Regions from separate parts of the Homo sapiens genome. Here region 1 is linked to region 2. Evidence: promoter capture Hi-C in 16 types of primary human blood cells and fetal thymus (Javierre and others, 2016). All regions are on one chromosome and are shown on one strand. The core of a region is centred on a gene start or on the middle of the fragment in contact, and the rest is flanking DNA. Distances in the headings are between cores, read along the strand shown. Region 1 overlaps HMGB3 (high mobility group box 3). Region 2 holds the start of FMR1-AS1 (FMR1 antisense RNA 1).

Evidence for each region. Contacts are between HindIII fragments. The CHiCAGO score rates a contact against its expected background, and 5 or more counts as called.
Region 1: a fragment that was not itself captured here is called in contact with the fragment with the promoter of FMR1-AS1 in region 2 in 2 of 17 cell types (non-activated CD4 T cells and total CD4 T cells); the score reaches 6.6 in non-activated CD4 T cells.

Annotation. Positions count from the first base shown.
Region 1 is chrX:150,984,821-150,991,745 of GRCh38, reverse strand. HMGB3 (high mobility group box 3) reads right to left here. Exons shown (of 5, transcript NM_005342.4): 2 at 5,997-6,151; 3 at 5,556-5,695; 4 at 4,444-4,618; 5 at 975-3,969. The coding sequence starts at 6,146. The coding sequence ends at 3,832. Among named protein-coding and RNA genes, the nearest start is that of HMGB3, 4.9 kb to the right of the region's middle. The HindIII fragment of the contact is 4,865 bases long and covers 1,667-6,531 here.
Region 2 is chrX:147,907,560-147,914,256 of GRCh38, reverse strand. It overlaps FMR1-AS1 (FMR1 antisense RNA 1), which reads left to right and starts at 2,440. Exons shown (of 2, transcript NR_024503.3): 1 at 2,440-2,615; 2 at 3,262-4,826. FMR1 (fragile X messenger ribonucleoprotein 1) reads right to left here and starts at 2,338. Exons shown (of 17, transcript NM_002024.6): 1 at 2,027-2,338. The coding sequence starts at 2,077. RefSeq lists enhancers at 1,918-2,017, 2,598-2,807 and a silencer at 2,178-2,517. The HindIII fragment of the contact is 5,224 bases long and covers 1-5,155 here.

The DNA of each region.
Region 1 (6,925 bases), core at 2,850-5,349, 3.1 Mb before region 2:
AGAATGTTTTCTTAGTTTCAGATTGTTCATGGCTGGTATATAGAAATACTAGTTTTTGTATGTTAATCTTGTATACTGCAGATGATCAATTCATTTTTCTAGCAGTTTTATTTGGAGATTCCTTACGGTTATCTGTATACAAGGTCATATCATCTACAAATAGACATAGCTTTGTCTTCTCAATTTCAGTCTGGATGTTTTCTTTTTCTTTTGCCTAATTGCCCTGGCTAGAACTTCTAGTACAATCATGAATAAACCCATGGGTTTTCCTAAACGTCCTATATCAGGTTGAGGAAGTTCCCTTCTACCCTTGTTTTTATCATGAAAGTGTTTGTCAAGGTTTTTGTGTCTATTGAGATGATCATGTGTGTCTTTTTCCTTTTATTGATATGGTATCCCAGCTTCTTTTGAAAGCTGAAATCGTAGGATGCCCAACATATAAAACAGGGTGGGAGGCTGCTCTGGTTGAAGCAGTAAGGGAAGCTTGGGGCCGCCAAGCTGGCTCAATGGCCTTTCCTTACCAGGTAGCCTTGGGCTCCACAGAAAACTGAGCTGGGAGCCAAGAACAGCAAGCGGTCCCTGTGGCTCTCCTCCAGAACTCCTTGTTGGGCATGGCTGAGTCAGCCAACTAAGCCCAGACCCTTGGCCTCGAGGAGCCCTGTGGGCAGGGCTGGCTGATTACAAGTACCCAACCACTTTATCAAATAGTAGCTCGTTAGCATCCTGCAAATTGCCTATTTATCCTGGTCCAGGGCTTCAGAGCCAACTCCCCCTTATGCCTCGGGCCAGGAGGTTGATCTTGGGGCTTTGGAGTCCTTAACACTTAAGTCATTTTGATGGTATCATTCCACTAAATGTTAGTAGTTCAGATCTATGGTTACCACAAAGTTTGCACTTCTAAAACCTTGATGATAATCAACCAAAAGTACAGAGGTTCAGTATCTCAGACAGATCGCAGACAGCCCACTGATTACTTTTTGGGAAGAGTGATTAAGAAACTTTATTACAGAAAATGAATGCATCCAACGTCCCCAAATACATTTGTGACAAGAACAGACACACACAGGAGACACAGACAATAGTCACTACATCACAGCCTTGTTCTTTCCGAAGGATAAAATGTCATTCAAGAATGGGGTGAGGTGGTTAGAGGGAGTAGGTACTATCCTTTTAAATGGGGGAAAAAAAAAAAAAAAGCAACAGGTTGGCATCTTAAGAACACAGACAGTGGGCCCAGAAATCAAGCTAAGCCTAAGCCTTAGGTAACATCATGCCACTTACATCATCTCAGAGAAACTAGGGCATTATTCCACTAGAAGAGCAATCTTGCCACAGTGTGAAAACGTTGAGTAGTGATCTTGCTGCCCCAGCTAATGGACCAAGTGGCCTCAACTTGACAGCCTCTTTAAAACTCAATGTTTGCCTAATCAAAGATCATCTGGCTAAACTGCTCCCCCACTTCTGCTTAGCTACTTTGGAAGCACAAAAGTTACCCCTTTCCATCCTTGGCCCTTCCCTGGTTGGTACATCTAGTTATGAGATAGACGCGCACCACTTAACAAATCACTCCCTTTTGACCGCAGGTTGTTTCTCTTCCATATTTGACGAGGCTGGCAACAGCTCCCGAATCTTGGCCTAGCACATCACGAATTGGGAAGCTAAAGCTTTAGCTTAGAATGCCAAGTGACAAGGACATGGCTGAAGCAGGAGGGGAAATTCTGGAACAAGTGCCTCTGGGCAAACCTCACAACCGAGTTTTTTAAATTAGTGGTCATTTTCTAGAACTAGAGGAACACATTCAGGACAAACAGTTCTGATGGGAGAGCGAATGGCTATGAACACATAAGAGATCAGGCTGTGACCGTGACCATAACTCGTACTCATCCAGGACCCGACAGGGCGGAGAGGACACCGCCTCCAGACATGCAAGTTTCTCAACAGTGAATTTTAAGAAAAAGCTGCTTTCTCTTAAAATTAATAGCACAAAAACACTCCTGCGTGTTTCATAGCCTCAAACATACACACCCAAATATTAATGCTGGGCAATAGCAACACTCACCCACAACACAGTACTGTATCCTTCATTGCTACGGACAGTAATGATGTATATACACATCAGCCTTCAAAATGGTATTTAGTGTCACCACTTGCTACTGTGGCCATCTCCCCTCACCCCAACCTGGATAAAATGTTACACTACCCACTAATATAACCACTGACACACAAACCAAGCTCCTTCCAGTTTAACATTGAACATCAATCTACATTTCCAGTGAATGAGCTAAACTTATGAGCAGGCCATTCAACTTTTCATGATACATTTAGTGCTCAGAAATGGTTGATTCCATTAGCCTGCCCTATAGCTCAGGTGGCCCAAGATGGAGCCTATCATCTTCCTTGGGGTGTTTGGTGTTTCCAAGTAGGAGCAAAAAAAGGATACCGTCCCCTACCCCACCACCCCATCCCACATACCCTCACTGGCATCCAGGAGACCAGCAGCAGGCTCAAGACCCCAAATGTTGGGCACCACAAATAATGTGATATGTGCCAGGAGCACGGGGGGTAGGGGTGAAAGAGAAAAACAATAAGGCCTTAATTTTTGACACACCATACACTCTGAAATTGCTGTTTAGCAATGCATTTGGCCCCACAAAATAGGGGGTGGAGGTGGGACAAAAGTTAAACCTAGATAGCCTCAGTCCTAATCACCCACCTTCCTATACCTTGGAAGGCTGCTGAACCTTGCCTATGTCGTTCTCCTAACTCCTCCAGACTTCATCTGAATGCCACTCAGACACAAACAAAATCACACAGTAGCTTCAAGTAGCCCTCTCCTTCATCTCAGCCCTAAGTGAGCTGGCCACTGAGTAATAAAAGAAGCTACCACATTTATAGGGAGGCCAGTCTCCAAATACAATGGAGTGGGGGTTTGTTCACTGCTGTGAGTCAGAAATTGACTGTTATAATAGAGAAGAGTTTTAAAAATGTAATACTGTTTATTTAACTTCAAAAACATTTCAGCATTCTAAACATACAAAAAAAATAACAGAACGTTGCGAATCGTGTTTAAGTACAGGAGGTTCTTGAACTTTCATTGATGCAGTGACTCTTTGCTTTGCTGACAATGAAGAGTTCTATAGTTTGTTTAAAAACAAACAGTTTAAAAACTACCGCACTTAAAAAAAAAAAATATTCTCATGCCAGCTGACCCCCCTTTGTCCACAGCTAAGATGGCAGCAGAATGCTATGTCACTATATACAGAAACAAGACAACCTGAAGCTAAATGGATGCCCCCTGCAGAGTCAACAGGTCCAGCCTCACAGTGCACGCCCTGAGCTACAGCCTCTCCCAAAAGGCATCTTCCCCACAGCCTCAACGCCGAGCAAGGAGCATCAAGGGTTTGTCTCGGTTGTTTTGTTCTTTTTACAAACTATAGATATATACAGTTGAAAACTCAGGATTTCTAGCCAATAACCATAGTTACCACCACCTTACAAATAAAAAGAAAATGCCAGAAACATCTTTAAATGCCTTGTCACACCAACAGCAAAGTGCACAGAGTGAGGAGAACACGAGAGTGCCTTTTCATTTTAAAAATGTTTGGAAATATGTACAACTTTGATACAGTTTCAGGGTGCTCCAGACACCCATGGCCACTTCATGTAAACCACTGACAATTTCTAGAGCACTTTGAGAGACTACAATATGATCGTGATCAAATTTTGTAATTAAACCTAATGAGGGCAACAGACACTTCTCAAATAAGAGATGTGTCAATTACGGCGCTCCCCTACTCTAAGTATTCACAAGGAGACAGATAAACAGTTTCTTTATTCATCCTCCTCCTCCTCCTCCTCCTCTTCTTCCTCCTCCTCTTCTTCATCTTCCTCTTCCACCTTTTTCCGGGCAACTTTAGCAGGACCCTTTGCACCATCAAACTTTCCTTTCGACTTATAGTCAGCAACATCCTAGAGGAACAGGGACACATTTCAAATGAGTATGCGGCTGTTTTAACACAAAGTAGAAACATGCAGTCCTCATCTCAGGTAAGAGGACAGGAATTGAAATCAAGTAAGACAGTGCTGCTATCATATATATCTGAAGTGTTTCCATATATGAATTTGGTTCTTAGCCATTCGAATTTAAAAGTTAGTGGGTGTTCAAGTGTCCTTCAAGTCACATTAGTAGGACTATCAAATCCTCTGTTAACATTTTTTTTTCCTTAAAGAGTAAGGAAAATTTTTCAAGCCTGAAGTTGTCCCCAAAACAAAGACCTGTCAAAAAAAAGCATGAACACCAGCACCCGTAGCTACCTTGCAGGGGGATGGGCCCTTGAGCGCTATGCTAAGTACTCAGCCCAGCAAAGCTGCCACATGCCCTGCAACCTACTGATAGCAGAACCACTGCCTGTTCACCAGTCCAGGCTTCCAGCCCCACCTTACCTTCTCATACTTCTCCTTCAGCTTTGCCGCCTTAGTGATGTAAGGCTGCTTTTCACTGTCATTTAAATTATTCCACATCTCACCCAGCTTTTTTGCCACGTCTCCAATAGAGATGCCGGGGTTTGTGGATTTGATCTTGGGGCGGAATTCTGAACAGAACAGGAAGAATCCAGACCTTGGAAGAATTACATACATTACATGAGAAACCACAAAAAATTTGAGTTAAAGTTGAAATCCCACATTCCTGAGAAGCATCTCCCTCCTACCACTATGACTTCTCCCTAAAGTGAAGTAATCTATGATACCATATACAATGCTACAAAGTTGTAGGTTCTAAAATATATAAGGTTAGAAAAATATGTGGTGCGCGGCTCACGCCTGTAATTCCAGCACTTTGGGAGGCCGAGGCAGGCGGATCACCTGAGGTTGGGAGTTTCAGACCAGCCTGACCAACATGGAGAAACCCCGTCTCTACTAAAAATATAAAAAAAATTAGCCGGGCATGGTGGTGCATGTCTGTAATCCCAGCTACTCAGGAGGCTGAGGCAGGAGAATCACTTGAACCCAGGAGGTGGAGGTTGCAGTGAGCCAAGATCACACCTTGCACTCCAGCCTGGTCAAGAGCGAAACTCCATCTCAAATATGTATGCGTGTGTGTGTGTATGCATATATAAAATATATGCGTATATATACGCGCATATATATATGGTGCTCTGTGTGTGTGTATGCATATATAATACATATGCGTATATATACGCGCATATATATATGGTGCTGTCCCAGTCTTTCAATTACTAGGAAAGGCATAAAGAACATACTTCAAGGACCCTGACAACCAAAACTAGAGTGCCTCCTTCACAATGGAAAGGCCAACAGACAACCACTGTGAATGTGCAAGCACAGCCCACAAACACTTCAGCCTTAACCACAGACAACGCTGGCACTGCATCGTAAAGCCCAAGTACAGAATGGTTTGCAGAGGTATTGCCATCTTTTAAGTATCTTTTAAAAAATATTTCATTTTGAAATGAAATACAGGACGACCAAAAAACCAAATCCTCCAAGCAGAAGAAAAGGTATTAATTGTTATCTTGAATCCTATAGTCACTTACGGTGGCCTTTTGGGAGCATTAGGATCCTTCTTCTTCTTGCCTCCCTTAGCTGGTCCATAATCCTTCATTTCCCGATCATAGCGCACTTTATCTGCCTTTGCCATTTCATCAAATTTAGATTTCTCTTTCCCGGACATCGTCTGCAAAGAACAGGACTCGTTAAATCCCTCGATGCAGTGAACACATACCTATTCAGTTTCTTGTGATTAAACTAGCAGTTGCTAGAACCACTTGCAAAAGGGGGTAGGTAAAGGCCTGAAACCTGTGCAGGGCCTTAAAAAAATAAAAGCACACACACAAAATTCTTAAGACAAGCAAAAATGATTCTAAGTAAAAGTAAAAGAGGAAGCAAGCAGCTATCTGGGAGAAAATCTGAAGGTAAGTAACCCCAAAGTAAGAAACCCAACTAAGACTAGTTTGAAGGGTACCAAAGAAAAATACCTTCCACCTCTCAGAGCACTTCTTGGAAAATTCCGCAAAATTGACAGGGACCTCTGGGTTTTTCTTCTTATGTTCTTCTCTGCATGTCTGCACAAAGAAGGCATAAGCGGACATCTTGCCCTTTGGTTTCTTGGGGTCACCTTTAGCCATCCTGACTGTGATAAAAGAGAAACAAAGAAATACAATGAGGAAAAGCAAGGAGGAATTGACAAGAAGTACAAGACGTACCAAAGGCAGAGCAAAACTAAAACTACACTTGCTGTTAGGAAGTCCCCTTCCCCCAATGCCGGACACCAGTGGCAGAAGGCAGAGTAGGAAAGAAATCAGCTTCATTGTCGCTTGTCATTTAACTTTTGACCAGCACGAAGCGCGCTGGTTTGCGAGTTACTTCTCAAAAGCGATCAAGTGCTCCAAATGGAGCCGACCCAAGTAGGGTACTCAGTGTTACGTTTACAGAACTGCTATGTTTTGGAAACTACAATCACAAAGTGGGAAGGGTAGAGAGAGGACACATTTGGTGGGGGTGATAGAAGCTTGAAATCTATGACTTAAGACTATCTGGTCATCTGCTAACTGTTAACACAATTAAAAACAACAACTCTTACCACTGCTGAACACAAGACCAAAGCAGGAGAACTATACGTAGGGGACATCTGAAATTGTCACTATTGTTGATGTGTTTTGGCTTACTAAAAAAACGGCTTTACAACACGGGAGATCTGGAAAGTGAGCAGGTACCCCCGTACTATTAGTTCAATTCATCACTTCGTCACTATCTAAAGGGGGAGGGTGTATAAAAAGGGCTAGTCGTGCTCATCTGTAACCCAGAATGCAGGTCCAGCCGAGAACACTTTCTCCAAAGTTTCCAAATAAAAATGCAGCTGCGGCATGTCATCGTCCCTGTCCCACCCCCCAGCTTCCCGCCATCT
Region 2 (6,697 bases), core at 1,191-3,690:
TAAATAAACATAACAGCAATTTGTCTGACACACACTTGTTCAAGTATTAACATTTCTCCTCAGGGAACTAAGGGGCAACCAACCTATTCTTCATTCACCTTCAAGTTAAACAACTTCGTTACAAAACAAAACAAAAAAGGAGGGAATTAATAGCAAAAATAGAAGGCATTTCTTATATTCCAGTCAGTGTGCAAGCAAAATCACTGGAGCAAATCATAAGTTGCTGGAAGAGAACAATAAGTACTTCAAGGCCATAATGTGCTACTTGCCCTCTGTGATAAGCAAACTTTAGTGGCATCCAATCTAAGTTTATATCACAGGTCAATCAAAATCTTGCCTAACCATTAGCCGTTACTCACACATATATATGTATATGTATTATAGTTATTAGTGCCAGAAATCTAGTGACCAAAACCACTAATCTAGGACCGTGAACGATTCTACGCAAACTCACCAGAAGAAATTATGGATCAATAAAATCAATGAAATTAAAATTTTGACTGCAGAGTCAACTGAAACAATTTCATATTCATGAGACTGTTAAGAACATAAACGCGGGGTTACCTTTTGCCTCCTTTTACAGCAAAAGGCTTTATCTTTGTGCTCAAAGTATGGAACAGTTTACATACTTTACTCATTTATGAAATATACTGATCTCCAAATGTCTTCATAAAATTGGTAAACACAGAATAAAGTCAATTGTTTATTTTCCTATAGCCAAACGTGTCCTGTCTGAAACATTCAAGCCATTCTACAATACATTTAAGAATTGTGTTGGACACTGCTAATAGCTATTTTCCAGCCTTCCTTCCACACGCACCTTCTATTGCCAAAATACTGTAGTAAGGTGGGATATTATTGAAAGAGGTTATAGACATTCAAAAGGAAATGAGAATTTATAGATGAATTTATACAGCACCTACATACCAACAAACGCACTACTGCTACATCAAATTTGTAAATCTTCCTTTTAAAACTGAAAGGTGTTAGTTGATCTGCAATGGTGTAACTTTAAAAAGCACAGTAAACCCATGAATGCCTATATAAAGCCTCAACAATTCAGTCCACTGCAACACCACAAATTCAAAGGAAATGTGGTCAAGTTCTTAGGGGCACAAAAATATTTTCGCTCAGTTAAAAAAAAAATGCCCTAGTAATAATATACTCTCAGTTAATTACCTGAAGTTTCATGGCATATATTTAGGTCTTTGGAAACTTAAACACACACACACAATTTTTAAGTAGCAGCGCTGCTAATGGTTTTAGACGCTGAAGCATGTGCATTCCTGAATTTACCCCGTTTAACAAAAAGGGGGACGCGAATATTCACGATGATCAACTTCTTCAATGCACTGCTGGGCCATGTTAGGGTCTTCCTGAAACTTTTGGATCTAAAATCTCCTCCGAAATCCACAAAGAGAAGCCACTAAAAATCAGTTGCCATTGTGATTTGGTGCCGACTACCGCTTCTTACTACTCTTTCTTCACAGCCCTCGCCCAGAACAGTGGAGCTCTCCGAAGTCCCAATGCTAGACCGGAAAAGAGAAGCCAAAGGAGACCTGAAGCCCTCTTGGCGCTGCAGGAGGCGGCCCGGCTGAAGCGCCCCCCGCTCCTCCACAACTACCCACACGACAGGCCCGGATCCCGCTGGGAGATGATGTTTAGGAAAGGGGGAATAAGCCATCGCCGTCACTTAGCGCCGATTTCGGCCCTTCCCGCCCGGCTCTAGTACCTGCCGCCGGCCCTCGCCCATCCCCAGCTCACCCCGGCGGGGCTCGGCGCCGAAAGAGAACCCTCTCCTCGCTGGTCTCTCATTTCGATAGGCGCTAGGGCCTCTCGGAGTCGGAGAGGGGCTTCCAACAGGCCCCAAGTCCAGTCCTTCCCTCCCAACAACATCCCGCCGAGCGTGCCCTGGCACCCAGGCGCGGTGCTCGGGAAGAGGGCCCCGGGCCTGCCTCCCGCCGACACCAAGAAGAAAAGGGAGGGAAGGAAGGGCGAAGATGGGGCCTGCCCTAGAGCCAAGTACCTTGTAGAAAGCGCCATTGGAGCCCCGCACTTCCACCACCAGCTCCTCCATCTTCTCTTCAGCCCTGCTAGCGCCGGGAGCCCGCCCCCGAGAGGTGGGCTGCGGGCGCTCGAGGCCCAGCCGCCGCCGCCGCCGCCGCCGCCGCCGCCTCCGCCGCCGCCGCCGCCGCCGCCGCCGCCGCGCTGCCGCACGCCCCCTGGCAGCGGCGCCTCCGTCACCGCCGCCGCCCGCGCTCGCCGTCGGCCCGCCGCCCGCTCAGAGGCGGCCCTCCACCGGAAGTGAAACCGAAACGGAGCTGAGCGCCTGACTGAGGCCGAACCCCCGGCCCGCTGCGGGTGTAAACACTGAAACCACGTCACGTGATCAACGCTGTTCCCTCCCCCCGCGGGCTCAGCCCCTCGGCCCCGCCCTCTCTCTTCAAGTGGCCTGGGAGCGCGCGCATGCGCGCTGCTGGGAACCGGCCGGGGTGCCGGGTCGAAAGACAGACGCGCGGGCCGGGCGTGCGCGGGCTTGGTGGAGGGCGGGAAGGCTGAAGGGCGGTGACAGGTCGCACTGCCTCGCGAGGGCCAGAACGCCCATTTCTGCAGAGGTGCACTCAGTGGCGTGGGAAATCAAATGCATCCGGTTATCCCAGTTCGGCCTCTCTGGGATTCCGCGGGAGGGGGTGTCTGGTCTGGTTTGGTTTGGTTTGGTTTGGTTTGGTTTGGTCCGGTTCAAAGTAGCGCAGTCTGACTGAGCGGGAGGTGGAGTGGAAGGCGAGAATAGGGGTGAAGGATTAGACAGAAGAAGACTTTGAACTAGGAACAGTGGCAACCAGGGTGACCCAGGCTTTTGTGACCCGTAGAGGCAGAAGGTGAGGCGTCTACGCCCTCTCTCACCAGATTTTGGGCGGCCCTGTGGAGACACCCTGTGCCCTTTAAGGGACATGGATTGAGTCGGGATCTCAAAATGTGAGCCTTTCCTCAGACCCAGCTTTGACCCACGTACTCGCCTTTCCTCAACTCATTTTCATACTTTCACTTGACTATATATTTTTTAAAAATTGTGTTAAGCACTTGAGGTTCATTTCTGCCCCTACTGTATGTGCACCCTGTGCCAGAGGGTGGGGTGAACACGTGTGTAGCAGTCATGCGTCCTGTCCACAGGGGCCGATGCACCTCCTTGCAACCCTTTACATTCCACTGTGAAACAAACCTCAACTTTTTCTTATTCCTGTTTTTACACCGTGCTTATAGCTGCCTTAATCCATGTTCCCTTCGGGATGCTGGTATCCAACTGAGAAGTTGACGGAGCATCTATCGTGTGCCAGACACTGTGCTAAGTGCTAACGAGAAATCGGTGAGCAAAACAGAAAAGAAAAAAAAAGAAGAAACGACTGCCAGCATTGAACTTAGTACCTAGCAAAGTAGGTGGACATAAATCAAATTGTCAGACAAGTAAATGAGTAGTTGCAGCTGTGATAAGGGGTATGAAGAATAGGCGCTTCCATGATGGCGGAACATGACCTAGTCTGGGGTGGAGAAGGGGAGATGATTCCAGCTGGAATATGGCAGGTGAGAGTTAACTAATAGCACTGAGTTGGCAGAGGCAGGATGACCTGCCCCAGGCAGGTGCCCCAGAATGAGAGGATGTTGCTGCTGGTGGAACTCCAGCTTTAAAGCGGTGGATCTAGGGCCACATTCCTCAAGGCCATAGCAAACAGGAAAGACCTTTTGGACTAGGGTCTTTGGAGTAGTCACATGAGGCCAAGAACCCAATAGGGCTGAAAGAGAATCTCATCATAGGCTGAATGGGAGCAGAGCATTAGCTGCAACTCCAATGTATTATAGTAAAAGGGGACACATTGATTAGAATGATTATACCCCTCCAAGTGTAAGCTGTTGTTCAATTTACCCAGGGCTTAAAAATATGTCAACTCTTCACAACCATTTTTACTACAAGCCACACTCAACCTGTGTTGTTCCCTGAACCTGTGATGCACTTTCATCCGTTCATGTCTCTACACATCCTTCCTGGGCCCCATAGAGGCCCTGCACCTTAAGGTTTTCAGCTGGATTCCTATTAGCTAGTTATTTTATCTCAGGTACAGAGAGTTAACTTTGCTCCTCAATTTTCAGCACATTGTCATATCAGTCCCTACAGGGTCCTTGTTTACATTATTTTATAGTGTTTATATTATTTTTTCCTCATCTTTCTCGATCCCCACTCTCATTCTTCTAGACACAAGCTGCAATATGTTCGATAGAGATCCTTGATAATTTAACACAGATAATGTTTTGTTTATGCCTCTTGCATTTACAGAGATGGTATTGGACTGTAAATCTCTATTTCCCACTGTTTTACTCAACAGTCTGTTTTTGAGCTATACCCACATTGCTGTGTGTACACCTAGTTTGCTACCGAGTATGCCAGAAATTTTATTCATACATATCCCTACTGATCGGGCATCTAGGTTACTGCCAACTCCCTGAAGTCATACTGTGGTGAAAACCCTTGTGAATGTCTTTACAAACCTTTGCCAGAACTTATTTTGTGCTCTTGTAGAACTTTGTGCATACCCTCTGCTTCCTCATTACACTGCTTGGCATATAGCAGAGACTCAACAAATGTTGAATACCTCTACTATGATGGTTAGTGTACTAGAATAATTTATTTATATTTCTGTTTTCCTTATTGGATTATTAGTACCTTCCAGACAGGGCAAATGTCTTTTCTATCTTTGTGTCCCTGGCACATTAAAAGTGGTTGATTTCAAGGTATGTTCAATGAATGAATAAATACTTATCTTCACTGCCAGTACATACTGCAACTTAGTCTTCCCCACTTGACTCTGAGTCTCAGCCTTACTCTGATCTCTAGCTTTTGATATTTCCCCTTTCAAGATAGCTTACCTGAATTCAGACACTGAGCTCAGGCCTGATCATGAGCCTGCTCTTCCAAAGTCCTCTCTCTCTCTCTCTCTTTCTCTCCTGTCTCTCGTTACAGGCAGCTCCTGCCTTCCAGTTCGTTGCTCAAGCCTAAAACTGAGACATTTTGACCCTCTTTCACACATCAGATCCATCAGCAAATCATTGTAGAATCCAGACTCTGTTTCTGATCATTTGCTCAGCTAAAACCATAGTCCAAGCTTCCATTCTCTTACCTGCATTATGGCAGCAACTTCTTCGCTGGTATCCCTGCAGTCACTGTCCACTGTTGTACCCTCTCTGACAGTTCTCAGCACAGAAGACAGAATGACCCTGTTGAGGTGTCAATCAAGTCACTCTGCCACTCACAATCCCCCAGTGACTCCCTACATCTCTCAGAGTAAAAGCCAGAGTCATTATTTATTCTGGCTTCAGTGCCCTATATACTCTGACTTCTGTTATCTCCGCTATCTCACCTTCTACTTTCCCCCTTCACTTCATTCCAGTGCATGAAATCTATCTAGTTCACCTAGATTTTCTCCTATGTTATCTTTCAGAAGTTTTACAGTTTTGTGTTTTGCATTTAGGTCTATGATCCATTTTGAGTAAATTTTTTTCAAAAGATATAAGGTCTGTATCTAGATTATTTTTTGCATATGAATGTCCAGTTATTCCAGCACTGTTTATTGAAAAGGCCATTGTTTCTCATTCCAGCCATAATGTTTTCTTTGTTGTTTCTTGAAAATAGCAGACAGGTTCTGTCTCTCTCCCCTCACTAGAGTGTAAGCTCAGTGAGAACAAAGATTTCCATTTGTTTTATTCACTGCTTGTCCCCAGTGCCTACCACAGTGTCTGGAACATAGTGAATGTTTACTAAATATTACATGAATGAACGAATATGTGTTGAGGACCCGGCCGAGGTTGAGTCAGCTCTCATGCCTATATTTATCTGATATTGGAATGATGCTTCAGTGTTTCTAGCCCTGCCTTGGCCCTTGGTTTCCATTAAATTGCTGCCTGTTGTCTTTGCATTGATTTATTCTGTGCTATTTCCTGCTCCTTCGCAATTTGAGCCCTCTGAGTCTTTTCCATGGCTCAAACCCAGCTGAAATGCCTTCTGCCCTTTCCGACTCTCAAATCTTATGTACCCTTCAGGACCCAGCTAAAGTCACACTTCTTTCTTGACACTTTCTCTGACAATTTCCTTTAACCATGACCTCTCATTCAAATGAGATATTAGAAAAAGAATAATTAATTGGCTTTATTTTTTAGAACAGTTTTACATTTATGGAAAAATTAAGCAGATAGTGGAGAGAGTTTCTATGTACTTCCTAATCTCCCTCCTCCCCTACAGTTCCTCCTGTTATTAACATCTTGCATTCGCATTGTACATTTATTACAACTGATGCATTATTACTAACTAAAGTCTATAGTTTACATTAAGATTCACTCTTTGTGTTGCATAGCTCTGTGGGTTTTGAAAAAAGCATAACATATCCACCATTACAGTGTCAGCAGAACAATTACACTGCATTAAAAAATTCCTTGTGTTCCACCTATTCATCTGGTCTACCTGCAACCAACCCTTGGCAATCACTGATGTTTTTACTTTCTGCAGAATTTTGCCTTTTCCGTAATGTCATAGAGTTGGAATCATATAGTATGTAGTCTTTTCATACTGCTTTTTTTTTTTTACTTAGCAATATACATTTAACATTCCTCTGTGTCTTTTCATGGCTTGATAGTTTATTTTCTTTTATTGTGC